Regions from separate parts of the Homo sapiens genome. Here all the other regions are linked to region 1. Evidence: promoter capture Hi-C in 16 types of primary human blood cells and fetal thymus (Javierre and others, 2016). All regions are on one chromosome and are shown on one strand. Each heading gives the region's core, a stretch centred on a gene start or on the middle of the fragment in contact. The rest is flanking DNA. Distances are from core to core; before and after follow the strand shown.

Region 1 (3,920 bases), core at 886-3,385:
TAGCCAGACATGGCAGTGCACACCTGTAATCTCAGCTACTTGGGAGGCTGAGGCATGAGAATCGCTTGAACCCGGGAGGTGGAGGCTGCAGTGAGCCGAGATCACACCACTGCACTCCAGCCTGGGTGACAGAGTGAGGCTCCATCTCAAAAATAAAAAAATAAAAAAATAATTACATGGAGGCCAATGACAATTACAGTATCAAACACCTTTTTTCTTGCAATTAAAACCAAATGTTTTTAGCTTTTCCCCTTTCAAGAAAATGAAAATTAAAGCTTTTCCATAATTGCAAGCAAAACAACTCTAATGGCCCTCTTAGAAGAAATCCAGAACTTCATACTATGGCTTAGAATGCACTACACAATTTGGTGGATGCATATCTTTCTTATCTGCTACTCTCCCCTGGTCTCACCTTACTCATCACACTGGACCTCTTTCTGGTCTACAGGTAAAGCAATTCATTCGTTCTTCAAGACCTTTTTTTGTTTTGTTTTGAGACGGAGTTTCACTCTTGTTGCCCAGGCTGGAGTGCAATGGCATGATCTCAACTCACTATGACCTCCATCTCCCAGGTTCAAGCGATTCTCCTGCCTCAGCCTCCCTAGTAGCTGGGATTACAGGTGTGCGCCACCATGCCCAGCTAATTTTTTGTATTTTTAGTAGAGACGGGGTTTCACTATGTTGGCCAGGCTGGTCTCGAACTCCTGACCTTAGGCGATCCACCCGCCTCAGCCTCCCAAAGTGCTGGGATTACAGACGTGAGCCACTGGGCCCGGCGTCTTTAAGACCTTTAAAAGAAATAGCAATAAAGTGCACGATTCCTTAGGCCAGGGGAGGTGGTTTTCACTTGTTATCCCAGAATTTTGGGAGGGTAAGGCGGGGGGCTTGCTTGAGGCCAGGAGTTCGCGACCAGCCCAGGAAACATGGTGAAGCCCTTCTCTACTAAAATACAAAAATTAGCTGGGCGTGGTGGTGTGTGCCTGTAGTCCCAGCTACTTGGGAGGCTGAGGCACGAGAATCGCTTGAACTCTGGAAGCCGAAGTTGCAGTAAGCCAAGATCGCACAGCTGCACTCCAGCTTGGGTGAAAGAGCAAGGCCCTACCTAAAAAATAAAAAAATAAAATAAACAGATAAACAACTATTTCTTAATATATGCCCCATTATTATTCCTTATCTGAAATTGAATTTAACTGAGATCCTGTAATTTTATTTGTTAAATGTAGTAACTAAATAGAGTCTTCCTATTTACTAACTAAAAATAAACACTGGGTGGCTCTTGCCTGTTTGTACTTGAGAGGGTTAGGCGGGAGGATCGCACGAGCCCTGGAGTTCGAGGGGGCAGTGAGCTATGATCAGGCCACTGCACTCCAGCTTGGGCGTCAAAGTGACAACCTGTCTCTAATAAAAAATAACAAACAGCCTTCCGCAGTTTGTCAGTACTATTTCTTTCTGCCAATTAATAGTTGTGTGACCCTGAGCAGGTAATATCTCGGGACTCTGCATCTGTAAAGCGATGGATAAAGAGACCTACCTCATAAGAACTATGAGGCTTAAATAAGATAGTGTGTGTAGCGTTTCTCGCATAGTCTGCGCTCACTAAACGGAGTTATTGTATATCGTTCGTTGTTAACTACCACAAAGGCTCTGCTCAGAGGTGCGTAGGCGCTGGCTCAGCCTGGGGTGAACCCACCAGGCCACCGAAACGAGCGATCAGGGTCGGCAAAGCTGTGGAGATGAAATGGGCAACACCTTCCACACTGCGAGTAAAGCTCGCAATCCGGGTGGAGGCCTCCACGTCCTAGCGCAGTCCAGTCCCGGGCGCAGGGAGGAGAGCTGGTCAGCCAAGATTCCAAGACAGGTGTCCACCTCCTCCAACGAAGCGGAACACGTGACACCACCCTATCCACTTCCGGCTTGGAGGGCATGCCCTCCCGTCACCAGCATGCACTTTCGACAAAACCGTGGAATCTAGTATTTTCCTCTGACACCTTTATATTTTCTTCACTTCCCTATAATTCTGACCTATCGTGTAGGTAAAAATTAATCTTCAGAGTATTACAGACATGCGTGCCCACGCGCTAGGCGAAAGTGCGAGTCGGAAGCACTTCATTCCCTCTCTTCGCTAGCCGGAAGTCGCGAGATCTGAATGAGTCAAAGCCGGCGGCCTCGGCTCCTCAGCTCCACCTGACAGTAGGCCGCTGATCGGCCGCGGGTCTTGTCGACCGCTAGGCCACCAGGTTCATGTGGAGGCTCCCAGGCGCCCGCGCCGCGCTTCGGGTGATCCGGACGGCGGTGGAGAAGCTGAGCCGGGCTGAAGCGGGGAGCCAGACAGCGGCGGGAGCGATGGAGCGCGCTGTAGTGCGCTGCGTACCTTCGGAACCCAAGCTGAGCCTGTCATTCGCTTTGGCTGATGGTAGCCACAAGAACATGCAGCGCGACCAGAGCGAGCCGCTGGGTCGAGTCCTCAGCCGCATCGCTACCAATGCCCTAAAGGGTCACGCTAAGGCGGCCGCCGCCAAGAAGAGCAGGAAGAGCCGGCCGAATGCTAGCGGCGGTGCGGCCTGTTCAGGGCCGGGGCCTGAGCCGGCTGTGTTCTGCGAGCCCGTGGTGAAGCTGTACTACCGGGAAGAGGCAGTGGCTGAGGACGTGCTCAACGTGGATGCCTGGCAAGACGGCGCGGTGCTGCAGATCGGCGATGTTAAGTACAAGGTGGAGCGCAACCCGCCCGCCTTCACCGAACTGCAGTTGCCGCGCTACATCATGGCCGGGTTCCCTGTGTGCCCCAAACTCAGCCTCGAATTTGGGGATCCCGCCAGCTCCCTTTTCCGCTGGTATAAGGAAGCCAAGCCCGGAGCGGCGGAGCCCGAGGTCGGTGTCCCCTCGTCATTGTCTCCCTCCTCACCTTCTTCTTCTTGGACTGAGACTGATGTGGAGGAGCGTGTCTACACCCCGTCCAATGCCGACATCGGGCTAAGGCTCAAGCTTCACTGCACCCCAGGCGATGGGCAGCGCTTTGGGCACAGCCGGGAGTTGGAAAGTGTGTGTGTGGTAGAGGCTGGGCCTGGCACCTGCACTTTTGACCACCGGCATCTCTACACGAAGAAGGTGACTGAGGACGCTCTCATCCGCACTGTCTCTTACAACATCCTGGCAGACACGTACGCGCAGACTGAGTTCTCGCGAACGGTTCTGTACCCATACTGTGCCCCCTACGCCCTGGAGCTCGACTACCGCCAGAACCTTATCCAGAAGGAACTCACCGGCTACAACGCCGATGTCATCTGTTTGCAGGAGGTTGACCGCGCAGTGTTTTCTGACAGCTTGGTACCCGCCCTAGAGGCCTTCGGGCTCGAGGGGGTGTTTCGAATCAAGCAGCACGAAGGCCTGGCCACTTTCTACCGAAAGTCTAAGTTCAGCCTTCTTAGCCAGCATGACATTTCATTCTACGAAGCCCTCGAGTCCGACCCACTTCACAAAGAACTGCTGGAGAAACTAGTTTTGTACCCATCAGCGCAGGAGAAGGTGCTCCAGAGATCTTCTGTTCTTCAGGTAAAGTAGTTCCGCCCGTCTCTTCACATACTGTCCCACTTTTAGGGGCCAGGAAGGCGAGGAATGAGGTGGGGGTTAAAAGTGCGATGAAAGTATCCAGATATTGTTGAAAGGTGTGTTTGCCCTTGTATCTTCAGCACAAAGTTTACTCTTCATTCATTCAGCAGATATTTTTTGAACACCTCTGGTGTGCCTGCCATACTGCAGGTTGCCTTGAACAAGACTAGCAGGGACTTTTACAGTGCTTACAATCTAGCGAGAGGGACACACGCTAAATGCAAGAACAATAGTAGCTAATGTTTTTTACTACTTGCCAAGCACTGTTCTGGCACATTTTAAAGTACTTAAAATTTAAGAGCGTGGTGTGTTTT
Region 2 (3,920 bases), core at 408-2,907, 290 kb after region 1:
AACTGAAGTTCTCTGTTAGACTCCTTTTTTAAAAGTAAAAGTGGTTAATCATCAACTTCTGCAATACCAAAGATTATTCAGAAGTAAATAATGGTCCTGCTAATTTAGAACTAAATTTAAAAAATAATGCCAACTCTCTGCTGTCTCGTCAGCATATTAATTAAAGTATACTTTCCAAGCTTAATAAGGACTGGTGCTATAACATCATTAATAAGCTGACACATAGGGGTGAATATTACAGCAACCCAGTAGTCCTTCTTCCTTCTTCTTCTCCTCCTGCTCCTGCTCCTCCTCCTCCTCCTCCTCTTCTTTTCTTTCTTCTTTCCTCCTTTTCCTCCTTCTTGGTTTTTTCTCCTTCTTCTCCTCCTCCTCCTCCTCTTACTCCATCTTCTCCTCCTCTTTCTCCTCCTCCTTCTCTCCCTTCTTCTCCCCCTTCTCCTCCTCCTGTTTCTTCCTTTTACTTTCTTCTTTCTTCCTCCTTCTGCCTTCTTTCTTTTTCCTTCTTATTCTTCTTTCTTCCTTCTTTCTTCTTCCTTCTTTTTTCTTCTTCGTCCTTCTTCCTTCTTTCTTCTTACTCGTTTTTTTCTTCGTCCTCCCTCCTCCTACTTCCTTCTTCTTTCTTCTTCTTCCTTCTTTCTCCTTCTTCCTTCCCTTTTTCCTCCCTCCTTCTCCTTTTTCTTCCTCTTCCTGCTCCCTCCTCTTCCTCCTTCCTCCTCCCCCTCTTCTTTTTCTTCTTCTTCCTCTTCCTTTTCTTCCTCCTCCTCCTTCCTTCTTCTTTTTCCTCTTCCTTCCTTCTTCTTTCTTCCTCCTCCTACTCCTTTTTTTTTTTTTTTTTTTGAGACAGTTTCACTCATGTTGCCCAGGCTGGAGTGCAATGGTGCAATCTCAGTTTACTGCAACCTCCGCCTTCGAGGTTCCAGCGATTCTTCTGCCCTGGCCTCCCAAGTAGCTGGGATTACAGGCATGTGCCACCATGCCCTGCTAATTTTACGTTTTTAGTAGAGACGGGGTTTCTCCATGTCGGTCAGGCTGGTCTTGAACTCCCAACGTCAGGTGATCTGGCTGCCTCGGCCTCCCAAAGTGCTGGGATTACAGGCGTGAGCCACCGTACCTGGCCCTTCTTCTTTTTTTTTTGAGATGGAGTTTCGCTCTGTCGTCCAGGCTGAAGTGCAGTAGCGTGACACGGGGTTTCACCATGTTGGCCAGGCTGGTCTCTCGAACTCCTGGCCTCAGGTGATCCATCCCCCTCGGCCTTCCAAAGTGCTGGGATTACAGGCATGAGCCACTGCGCCCGGCCCTTTTTTGTTTGTTTTTCTTTTTAATAATGCCATGGTTCTATATTCTACAGCCTTGAAAAAACCCTTATAGAAGATATTCCTTATAATACTCTTGAGTTCTAAATAGTTTGACTATGACTTACAGTGTTTAAACACCATTACTTCCCATCTTTTTTCTTAAAACCTACCTATGGATTTCAAGAAACATTGCCTCAGGCCACTGGACAAAGTGTTGTATTTCATGCCCCTGCCCTACCTATACCACATAAAAATACCATTTTGAAGATGGCTACTTCTAAATGAATGAGGCTTGTTAAAATATTAAAGAAGTATTTAATGATGAATTTTAAAGGGAAAATATGTGGATCTGTTGATTAGGAGGTTTTATTTCTGGATTAAGAAACGGCTATATTTCCGTCAGAAAAGAAAAAAATTTAAAAGGCTATATTGCCTTTGTGCTATAAATTTGTGATTTTAATAACAGTTATTTTGCATATTTAAGTAAGTAGACATTTCAAGAAATTGGTTTGTCTTTAATGTTCTTTATGAAGTGTTTTCTGTTGATACTGTGTCATTTGTTTCTAGGTTGCTGCTAACACTCCAAGTATGTACTCTCAGGAACTATTCCAGCTTTCTCAGTATCTACAGGTAAAAGTACATCTTGAGACTTCTTAAAAGCAGAATTTCTTTTAAACTTTTAAAAGTTCTTAAAAGCAGAATTAGGGCCAGGCATGGTGGCTAATGCCTGTAATCCCAGGACTTTGGGAGGCCTAGGCAGAAGGATTCTTTGAGGCCAAGAGTTTGAGACCAACCTGGGCAATAAAGTGAGACCCCTTTAATTTAAAAAAATTTTTTTAATTAACCAGGTGTGATGGCGTGCATCTGTAGTCCCAGCTACTTGGGAGGTGGAGGTGAGAGGATTACTTGAGCCCAGGGGGTCGAGGCTGCAGTGAACTTTGATGGCACCACTGCACTCCATCCTAGGCAACAGAGCAAGACCCTGTCTGAAGAAAAGAAGGGCAGAATTAAACAACTTATATTTTATTTTGCAAATTCACAAATATAGGATAAAAAAATGGCTGGATGCAAATAGAAAAGAAATACTGTCTTTTCAAAAAAGAACAAAGGATTAAAAGTAGATCTTATGAAGAAAGATAAAAGAGTCAACATTAAATCTAGAGAAAAGCCTTTGTACAAGAGGAATTTTTTTGTTCAAGTATGAGGAGGTTCCAAAACAGTTTTTAAAAATCTGTTTTCAAATTTTTTTGGAGACAGGGTCTCGCTCTGTCTCTCAGGCTGAAGTGCAGTGGCATGATCAGAACTCACTACAGCCTCGAACTCCTGGGCTCAAGTCTTTTTCCTGCCTCAACCTCCCAAAGTGCTGGGATTATAGGTGTGAGCCGCCATGCCGAGCCCCAAAACAATTCTTTATCCATAGATGACTTTTGTTTTGTTTTATTTTATTTTATTCTGTTTTATTTTTGAGATGGAGTCTCACTCTGTAGCCCAAGCTGGAGTGCAGTGGTACAATCTCAGCTCACTACAACCTCTGCCTCCTGGGCCCAAGCGATTCTCCTGCCTCAGCCTCCTGAGTGGCTGGGACTACAGGCATCCACCACCCACAGCTGGCTAATTTTTTGTATTTTAGTAGAGACAGGGTTTTACCATGTTGCCCAGGGTGGTCTCAAACTCCTGAGCTCAGGCAATACACCCACTTCAGCCTCCCAAAGTGTTGGGATTACAGGCATGAGCCATGGCGCCCGGCCCATAGATGACTTTTAAATAAAAAATAACTGGGAGAGATTTTGATTGCTTAATAATATTAATAGCAAGTAATTATATAGCACTTATTATATGCCAAGCTTCATTCTAGCACTTTACCTATATTATTTAATTCTCACAACAGTCTTACAAGGTGCATATTTTATTCCTATTTTTACAGATAGAGTAACTGAGAGGCAGGAAGATTTAATAATTTATACAGTATCACATATCAAGTATATGGTAGAGCTGGGATTTGAACCTGGACAGCCAGACCTCAGATTTTCTGCTTTGTGTAACTACTGTGCTGTGCTGCTGGATTCACAGAATAATTTCTTGGTGTAGAGCAGATACTGCTTCAAGTTAATGCCATATTTAAAGAACCGTATAAATCTTTAAAAAGCAAACAAGTGTTTTGGGTTGTTTTTTTTTTTTTTTCTGGTTTTTGTGGGTTTGGGCTAGATTATGTTTCTTATTCTGGTGAGGGAGCATGGTTAAAGAAAACTCCTGGATCAGGAGATTAGAGACTGAGGTATTTTTTGTTTTTGTTTTTTTTTTTTTGAAATGGACTTTCGCTCTGTCACCCACGCTGGAGTGCACTGGCGCAATCTAGGCTCATTGCAACCTCCACCTCCCGGGTTCAAGCAGTTCTCCTGCCCCAGTCTCCCGAGTAGCTGGAATTAAAAGCATGTGCCACCACACCTGGCTAATTTTTTGTATTTTTAATAGAGTAGAGTACATTTTTAGGTTTCACCATGTTGGCCAGGCTGGCCTTAAACTCCTGACCTCAAGTGATCCATCCACCTTGGCCTCCCAAAGTGCTGGGATTACAGGTGTGAGCCACCGCACCAGGCAAGATTGAGGTTTTTATCTTAGTTCTGC
Region 3 (3,920 bases), core at 541-3,040, 290 kb before region 1:
AAACTGTTGATGTGCTTTCTTATGTATAAATGCAAAAAAATATTGAAAGGTTACCATGTGATATTAACTGAAATGTCTAAAATTTAAAGTTATTTCATATTTAATTCATTAGTTTTATTCATCTGTTCTTTAGGATCGTAGGGCATCAGAAAAACAAAAAGAAATAGAGAGAGTAAAAGAGAAGCAACAGAAAGAACTCAATAAACAAAAACAGATTGAAAAGGTATACAGTCCTAATGTCTGGATCTTTATGTGTTGTTTGTGAAGACTTAATTCAGCACTATGACTTTCAGATTTGAATTTCCAAATGAAGGGCTGTTTCTGCTTGTTCAGCCACTTCATAAACAGATGATTCATACCATAGCAGAAAAGGGTCACATCTGTTTTTTGATATGATGTTTACATTATAGTTACGTTGACATGTAATATGACTGTTTCAAAAATATACCAGAACTTTAATATTTCAGAGGAGGTTGTCTCTGTCAAAGCAGTTGAGAGGCTGTGTAGACTTAACTGCCATTGCTGAAAGCCATTTTGCCTTCTATGGGGGGGAAATAAATAAATATATATGTTATATGAAATATATAATGAAATGTATATTTTTAATATTGCCAGGAGTGTCAAATCATTGTCCATCCAACAGAATAATTTTAAAAGACAAATTTCAGAGCAAAACTTGAAGAATGCATTAAATGATCCATGAAATTGTAAGAGCGTGTTATGGGTTGTAGATTGACAGTAGGAATAGAAAAGAGGAGACAGCTGGGATGCTTAGAACAGATCAATAAGCATTGGCTGTGGGCTGGCTCTCTGGACAAAGAAGAGGGAAGTGGCAAAGATGACATTGAAGTGAGGCTTTCTTGATAGGCGAGGCTGAGGGAAGGTGACACCTGATTTAGCAAAGATGAATTGGACAGGGATGGAGAAAAGGGCTGGAGAGGGGAAGGGAAAGGAGTGTGGGGGTGATCCCTTTCGAGGGTTTTACTATAATATATAGTGAGAGATGATTGATGATGGGCTTTATTTGGTTGTTGGTCATAAAAAAAGAAAGATAAAATATTAGATTTTAGTTTGAATGCTGGCTTTTATAGGATGGTGCCAAAATTCATTTTGGTGTTGTATTGTTTGGGTGTAGCTTTTCTTTTTATCAAGTTGTCAGAAGTATGCATACATATTTATGACAGAAGAAGTGGCTCTCAAGAATGTATCTTAACTGCATAATTTGCCATTTGACTGCAGACAAGTAACTTAGTTTCTTTTTTGTCTTTTCCACTAGGACTTGGAAGAACAAAGTCGGTTGATAGCTGCTTCCAGTAGACCAAACCAAGCCAGTAGTGAGGGGCAGTTTGTTGTCCTTAGCAGTAGCCAGTCAGAAGAGAGTGATTTGGGAGAAGGAGGAAAGAAGAGAGAATCAGAAGCATAAGCTTATACTTTTGGTAGATATTCCCCCTTGGAATTTGACAGTTTCTATGGTGAAATGGCAGAAGGTAACAACTATGTTGAAATATCAAGGAGGAGATTAAGCTTTATATTTGCTTATTTGTTGTAGCTACATTTTAAAAAAAAGATTGAACTTGATGACTTAGGTTTGCATTGATCTTTTTTCCCCCTTAAACATAATGTACTATGTATTAACATCTAAAGGAAACCTGCTCATCTCCCTGAAGCAGACTGCTGAGGAATTACATTTGCTCAAGAATTTTTTCCGTCAAATTGTGAACTTTTAATTCTTGCATTGTAATTGGCTGTGTCCATAAGAAATCATTTATTCTTCAGGCTTAGACATTCATGGATATGCTTTTCTTTCATTAGGAACATTTTGCTGGTGATGAGGAAGCATTTAGCTGAATAAGTTTAAAGCCCTTTATACAGAGAATTCTACAAGTTTGCAAATATTTTAACAATATTAAATGTGCAATAGAACTTTTATAAAATAATTAGAACAGAGATTTTACAGTTAAGGTTTCAAATTGTGGCAGGTGGTACTGTTGATCTCAGGGTACTTTCTGGGATTGCTCACATTTCTCTAATGTACTGCACTTGATGCCAGTAGGAAAGAAGCTTAAGTGTCTTCAGTTCAAGATTGATAGAGCCCTTGGCATTTTATTATCACATTCTTAGTTCTCAGGTTGGGACTTCAATTACTGCTGCAGAGCAGTAGTGGTTAAAAATAAGATATTGGAATTTATTAAAAGATTTTTGTTCAATACATTTTAGATTAGGATTGACAAGTAAAGATACTGCTATGGAATGATACATTGTATTTTCTGCATTGTGTGAAATAGTTTTTATTGAAAGTCAAGTGACATTTCAAAAGAAGTTCTATAACAATTATGTTTCATGCTTAAAGTAAAAATTCCCAGAGTTTAGTTTAGAAAATGTAATCTTTTAAATTTCAGACTGATATATTCCCAGTATTTTCATAATGCCATGTTTTGATAAAGTACTGAATCACCACTTTATATCCACAAAGGCAAATAACTAATGTATGATAATAGAATAATTTGCACTAATTATTGTAAATATGTCTACTCTTCAAATGAGTAAAAGGTCCAATTTTGTGAAAGATTGAAAATGAATTGAATGCCTAGTAGAGTATAGGAGAAGTTGACCAAGGAAGGATTTAACCTGGTGCCAAGGTTAAAATAACATTTCTCTACTGCCTATTGTTTATGTTAAACCTTAATTTTTTTTCTGTAATCACTTTTAACACTGCTAATAGAAATTATGTTTTCATGTGTTTCACATGAAAAAGTATATATATACAAAGTTAATATAGTGGGTAAAATACTTTACATAGTCACACATTTACAAATTTTTCAAGAGGTTAGCCACTAAGACTTTAATAATTTTACAAGGGAAAAAGCCTTTTTTTTTCTTTGATATACAGTTTTTTCTTCTTAGTTCTGCATTAGAAATGGCATCTGTTTTAGGTCTCAAAATATAACTCAGCTGTTTCACACTGTATATGTACATTGTTTTCTGTAGGAATAGGATAATGATATATAGGATCATGATATTCCTTCTATCCATGTGCCAAATGGGTGTAATGTTTATTTACTGATGCTTTATGTTACCAAAACATACAGTAAAAAAGTAGAAATTTATGAAATACTTTTGATAAAAAGTTTATTTTGTGCTTACCAAAAGGAATGCTTTCACAATAGTGTATCAGTTCTTTTGTTTTGTTAAAGTTGGAATTTATTCTGTTGCCAGCATTTAAGTAGTCATGGCAAGTCCTGTTTTTAAGACCTTTTGGAGACTGGAGCTTTCTGTTCCATTAAGTCTTTTGTTTATACTACAAATTGTCACCTCACTTAGTTCAGATGAAATCTGTTACTCTACAAGGAAGGTGTTCATCATTAGGAGGCAGCTTTACTAAGCTGGTGCTTTGCATGGTAGCAAGTGCTGCCCTTTATCAGCACCCTGGGTCATAGTGTAGGCTAGAGTTAAGGCACTGGCAGACTTAGGGATGCTGGACAGACCTGTAGTTCGTTTTAAGTCATGTTCACAGGAATTTCTACAATAATAAACCCATCATCTCCATAGGTCAGATCGAAGTGCATTCCAATGCTAAATAGAAGTTATGAGTGGGTTTAACAATTTTAGATGATTCAGCTTTTGTTCCATTACTGTTGAACTATATGAACTATTCCATTACTGCAGAGATTTAAGTATCTGTTTTAATAAGCTCTTTTTGTTATTTAAAGGCTGCCCATGGGTTTCTGCCTAGTGGTAAAGCTGATTGTTACCCTCCTTTGAAATCCCTTCTAGTTCTGAGATGCTTTGAGGGTAACTGGATTCGATTTTGGGATATCTTTTCTCACATTCAGACTTACACTTAATGGTGTTAGAAATCAACAAAACTCCTTTTTAAAAAGAAAAGATATTAAGCCTGCCTACTTCTACAATGCATTCTG
Region 4 (3,920 bases), core at 467-2,966, 280 kb after region 1:
TTCTTCCTTAGGAAGAAATTCAGCGAAAATGTGTTACTAAAATAAGTAGGGCTGAAGAGTGTAGAAAAATCGAAAAAGAAAGGTACGTCTTTTTTTACTGGTGGTTCTCTTCCTAGTAAGTCTATTGTGTGTGATCCCAGTTGTGCTGAAATTTTTAAGGATTTGTAAGTGATAAATAGGTAGGCTTCTTGTGCCTCCTGCTATCCTTTCTGTTTTTAAAGAGGGAGGGTTACCCAAGTGATGAGAAGCAAATTTGGACAACCATCACCACTAATTTTAGAATATTTTCATCATCTCAAAAAGAAACCTTGTACCCATCCCATTCCTACCTGCCACTTCAGCCTTTTGTAAGCACTCATGTACTTTTTGTCTGTATAGCTTTGCCTATTCTGGATGTTTCATATAAAATGAATCATTATAATACATCAGTCTTTTGTGACTGACTTCTTTTACTTCACATAATGTTTTAAACGTTCATTCATGTTATAGCATGTTATCAATACTTCACCCCTTTATTGCCAAATAATATTCAGTTATATGAATGTCTACCACATTTGTTTATTCATTTATCAGTTGATGGATAGTTGGATTATTTTCCCTTTTTGGCTATTATGAATAATGCCAACATTTGTGTAGAAGTTTTTATGAGAACATGTTTTTAGTTCTCTTGGATGTATACCTAGGAGTGGAATTGCTGAGTTGTATACTAACTTTATGTTTAACATTTTGAGGACCTGACAAACTCTTTTTCCAAAGAGGTTGTACCGTTTTATGTAGCTGAATTTTAAATCACCTAGTTTTCAGATTCTAATTTCATATATATTAAAGGAGAACCTTAGCTGAAATGAGTGGTTTGAATTAATAGGGGAAAAATTCACTTGCAATAGTTGGCAAAGCTGGAAGCATTTTTTTAAAAAGTACATTTGGAATTATTACTATTAATATTTGGCCCTTTTTTGTTTTTGTTTTTTTTTGCAGTTTTATCTTCAAGACACTAAAAGTAGTAATGGTACTTTTATAAATAGCCAGAGATTGAGTCGAGGCTCTGAAGAAAGTCCACCATGTGAAATTCTTTCCGGTGACATTATCCAGTTTGGAGTAGACGTGACAGAGAATACACGGAAAGGTACGGGTATGGATCACTTTTTTTATTACTTGTCTTTTAAAGGTTATTTAATTTTTTATTATCTTACTTGACATTATGAAACATTACATGCTTGTGAAAGCGATTTAAATACAGCATTATATACAGTGAAAAGTTAAAAGTCTCATACTTTCCGTATTGCTCTTCTAAAATTTTAAATTCTGAAGTGTTATTTAGTAGTTTATATTCTTCATCACAGTCAGGGACCAGTCAGCTGCAATGACAGCATACCCCACCAAGACAAGCTTAAATCACAGGATATTTATTATTGATGATGAGACTTAATGAGAGATCTGGAGGCAGATAGGTTCATTTGTTCAGTTGACTCAATGAGATCATCAGGGATCCAGGGTCTTACTGTCTTCCTGTTCTACTGTCTTAAACATTTTAGTTTCTCATGCTTTTGGTTGTTGCTTCATGGTCATAAGATGATGGCTGCAAGCCCCAGGCATCATTTTCCTCACACCAGTATCCTAGGCAAAAAGGATGAGGCGGGGATAAAATGCCTTCTTGTGTGGCTCTCTTCTTATGTTGAAAGAACAATCTTTTGCAGAATCCTCCCAGCAGATTTCTCCTTAGGTCTCACTGGCCACATGGGTAGATCGCATACATAGTTACCTGCAGCTACAAAGAAGTCTGGTGAAGTTACTTAATCTCGTGAAAGGGAGCAAGAAGATCTATGATTGACATAGATCAGTTTTGATTTATTCCTTCAGGTTGTGTGTACATTGTTACCCCAAACAAAATTAGAGCTCTCTTAGCAAGAAAGAAGATGGAAAGGTAGTAGAGGTAGGCAGCTAATAGTAGCTATCACAAGTATAAAATAAAATTTAATGTCTCACAATTTTTGAAAGTTCTTTAGCTAAATAAATGTAGATTGATCTTTGTTTTTACAATTCAGAAGCTTCCTGCCTCTACCTAGTTCACGGTCTTCTTTATGACCATGAAATTATATAGCTAAATCATAAAACTAAATGGATAAAAACCATAAGTGTTTAGTTCCACTTCATTAGTTTAATATGGATAGTGCAACCATTTGGCAAGTTTCTCCTTTCATTTGTCTGAACATACTCTGATCTGGTGATACTGGTCAGAATTTTGCATAGTAGAGATGGTGATGGTGGTGATGATGATAATGCTGATGATGCTGGTGTGTGTGTGTTCATATGCATATTTATGCATATACTTTCACTGGTATTGCAACAGCAGTATTATTTTTAATGGGTTTTTTTGGCCTCCTCAGAAAGTTAGGTTTTGATATTTGAATTTGGGCAGGGCCAACATCTTAGGAATTTCCATTTACAATTGTAAACCAAAAAAGAAAGGTTTGTATTTTGGTAAAGAATATTGACACTTCTTACTAAGAGAATTCAACTTATATATGACCATACTGGGAACAGCTGCATTAGACACTCCTATATCTGCTGTTGCCATATCACACCTACAAGTCATTCAGCAAACAGTAAACCGAGCTCATTAAATGGAACCCCAACTGTGAGTAACCCATAGAGAAAAAGAGAATTTGATTACATTGTCTTTCTCTCCAAGGAATGTCTGTCTTCTTGGCTTGCATTTCCTAAAGGGAATTATTAGGTGTTGATTGACAAAAAGGATGAGGTAATGAAATACATTTAGAGAATACTTAGGTAAGATAAGCAGGACTTCTTGGAGCTTTTAATATGCTAACATATATGCAGATTTCCAAGGAGGTGGCCATTATAGAATGCAACTCTTTCCAAACTCCTTTCCACTGTTTTTTCCCATCTATCTGTGAGGGTCTATCTGTGAGGGATACTCTTTAGAAAATGCTATAGAAAGCTAAGAAGATGACCCTGAGATTCAAGGTTCCTCTTAGTATAATCTTATTTTAGTAACATTAGTTTTTTTTTTTTGAGACGGAGTCTCACTCTGTTGCCAGGCTGGAGTGCAGTGGCACCATCTCCAGTCACTGCAACCTGTCTCCCGGGCTCAAGTGATTCTCCTGCCTCAGCCTCTCGAGTAGCTGGGACTACAGGTGCATGCCACCATGCCCAGCTAATTTTTGTATTTCTAGTAGAGACGGGGTTTCACCATGTTGGCCAGGATGGTCTCGTTCTCTTGACCTCGTGATCTGCCCATCTCAGCCTCCCAAAGTGCTGGGATTACAGGCTAAGCCATCACGCCTGGCCAGTAACATTAGATTTTTACAGTCTTCTGTGAAATTTGATTTATCTTTTATGCTAACTTTAAGGAGATTAGATTTAAAAAAAAAAAAACTTGCAACATTTAAAATGTTGTTTCTTTTGGTACTTACTGGCTTCAAAAAGTTGACTTATGTTAAGCACGGGCTCTTGGGATACAGCTGTGTCACCAGTTGAGTACTACCTGTTTAAGGACATACCAGAAAAAAAGTATTGATTTTTATCCTATGCTAAACAGTGCTGTGATAACTTTTGTATCACTTGGAGAATGCTCCTGAAATTATGCAACACTACTAGATAACCCCTGGATCAAAGAGGAAATCAAAAGGGAAATTTCACACTGTATTGTAAAGAGAGGAGACTTTTATGCCAAAATACAGTAAGTCTTTTAGTCAGATAAAATTAATAATCTTAAATTCCATTCATGTTAAAGAAGAAAGACAATTAAGAAATCTGACACTAATCAGAAGAAATTAGAAAACGAATAAGTAAAAGAATCTGAAAAGGAGAAATAAAAGCAGAAATTAATGAAACAAAAAATTCTACAAGGGATAAACAAACCCAGATGCTGGTTCTTTTATTAATAAAAAGAAAAC

Evidence for each region. The method cuts DNA at HindIII sites, captures the fragments that hold promoters and counts their contacts. A CHiCAGO score of 5 or more calls a contact.
Region 2: a fragment that was not itself captured here is called in contact with the fragment with the promoter of PDE12 in region 1 in 1 of 17 cell types (endothelial precursors); the score reaches 5.6 in endothelial precursors.
Region 3: a fragment that was not itself captured here is called in contact with the fragment with the promoter of PDE12 in region 1 in 2 of 17 cell types (M1 macrophages and endothelial precursors); the score reaches 5.8 in M1 macrophages.
Region 4: a contact is called between a fragment that was not itself captured here and the fragment with the promoter of PDE12 in region 1, in 2 of 17 cell types (endothelial precursors and megakaryocytes). The highest score is 7.3, in endothelial precursors.

The regions. Positions count from the first base shown.
Region 1 is chr3:57,554,139-57,558,058 of GRCh38, forward strand. It overlaps PDE12 (phosphodiesterase 12), which reads left to right and starts at 2,136. Exons shown (of 3, transcript NM_177966.7): 1 at 2,136-3,549. The coding sequence starts at 2,242. It also overlaps a transcript of DNAH12 not described here. RefSeq lists enhancers at 1,630-2,409, 2,900-3,069. The HindIII fragment of the contact is 2,707 bases long and covers 274-2,980 here.
Region 2 is chr3:57,847,892-57,851,811 of GRCh38, forward strand. It overlaps SLMAP (sarcolemma associated protein), which reads left to right. Exons shown (of 25, transcript NM_001377540.1): 6 at 1,863-1,925. Among named protein-coding and RNA genes, the nearest start is that of SLMAP, 94 kb to the left of the region's middle. The HindIII fragment of the contact is 2,960 bases long and covers 178-3,137 here.
Region 3 is chr3:57,268,265-57,272,184 of GRCh38, forward strand. APPL1 (adaptor protein, phosphotyrosine interacting with PH domain and leucine zipper 1) reads left to right here. Exons shown (of 22, transcript NM_012096.3): 21 at 134-223; 22 at 1,277-3,920. The coding sequence ends at 1,423. It overlaps ASB14 (ankyrin repeat and SOCS box containing 14), which reads right to left. Exons shown (of 11, transcript NM_001142733.3): 11 at 78-1,354. It overlaps LOC105377102 (a long non-coding RNA gene), which reads left to right and starts at 1,302. Exons shown (of 3, transcript NR_135535.1): 1 at 1,302-1,487. The HindIII fragment of the contact is 537 bases long and covers 1,523-2,059 here.
Region 4 is chr3:57,830,405-57,834,324 of GRCh38, forward strand. It overlaps SLMAP (sarcolemma associated protein), which reads left to right. Exons shown (of 25, transcript NM_001377540.1): 3 at 979-1,126. Among named protein-coding and RNA genes, the nearest start is that of SLMAP, 76 kb to the left of the region's middle. RefSeq lists an enhancer at 1,292-1,793. The HindIII fragment of the contact is 659 bases long and covers 1,388-2,046 here.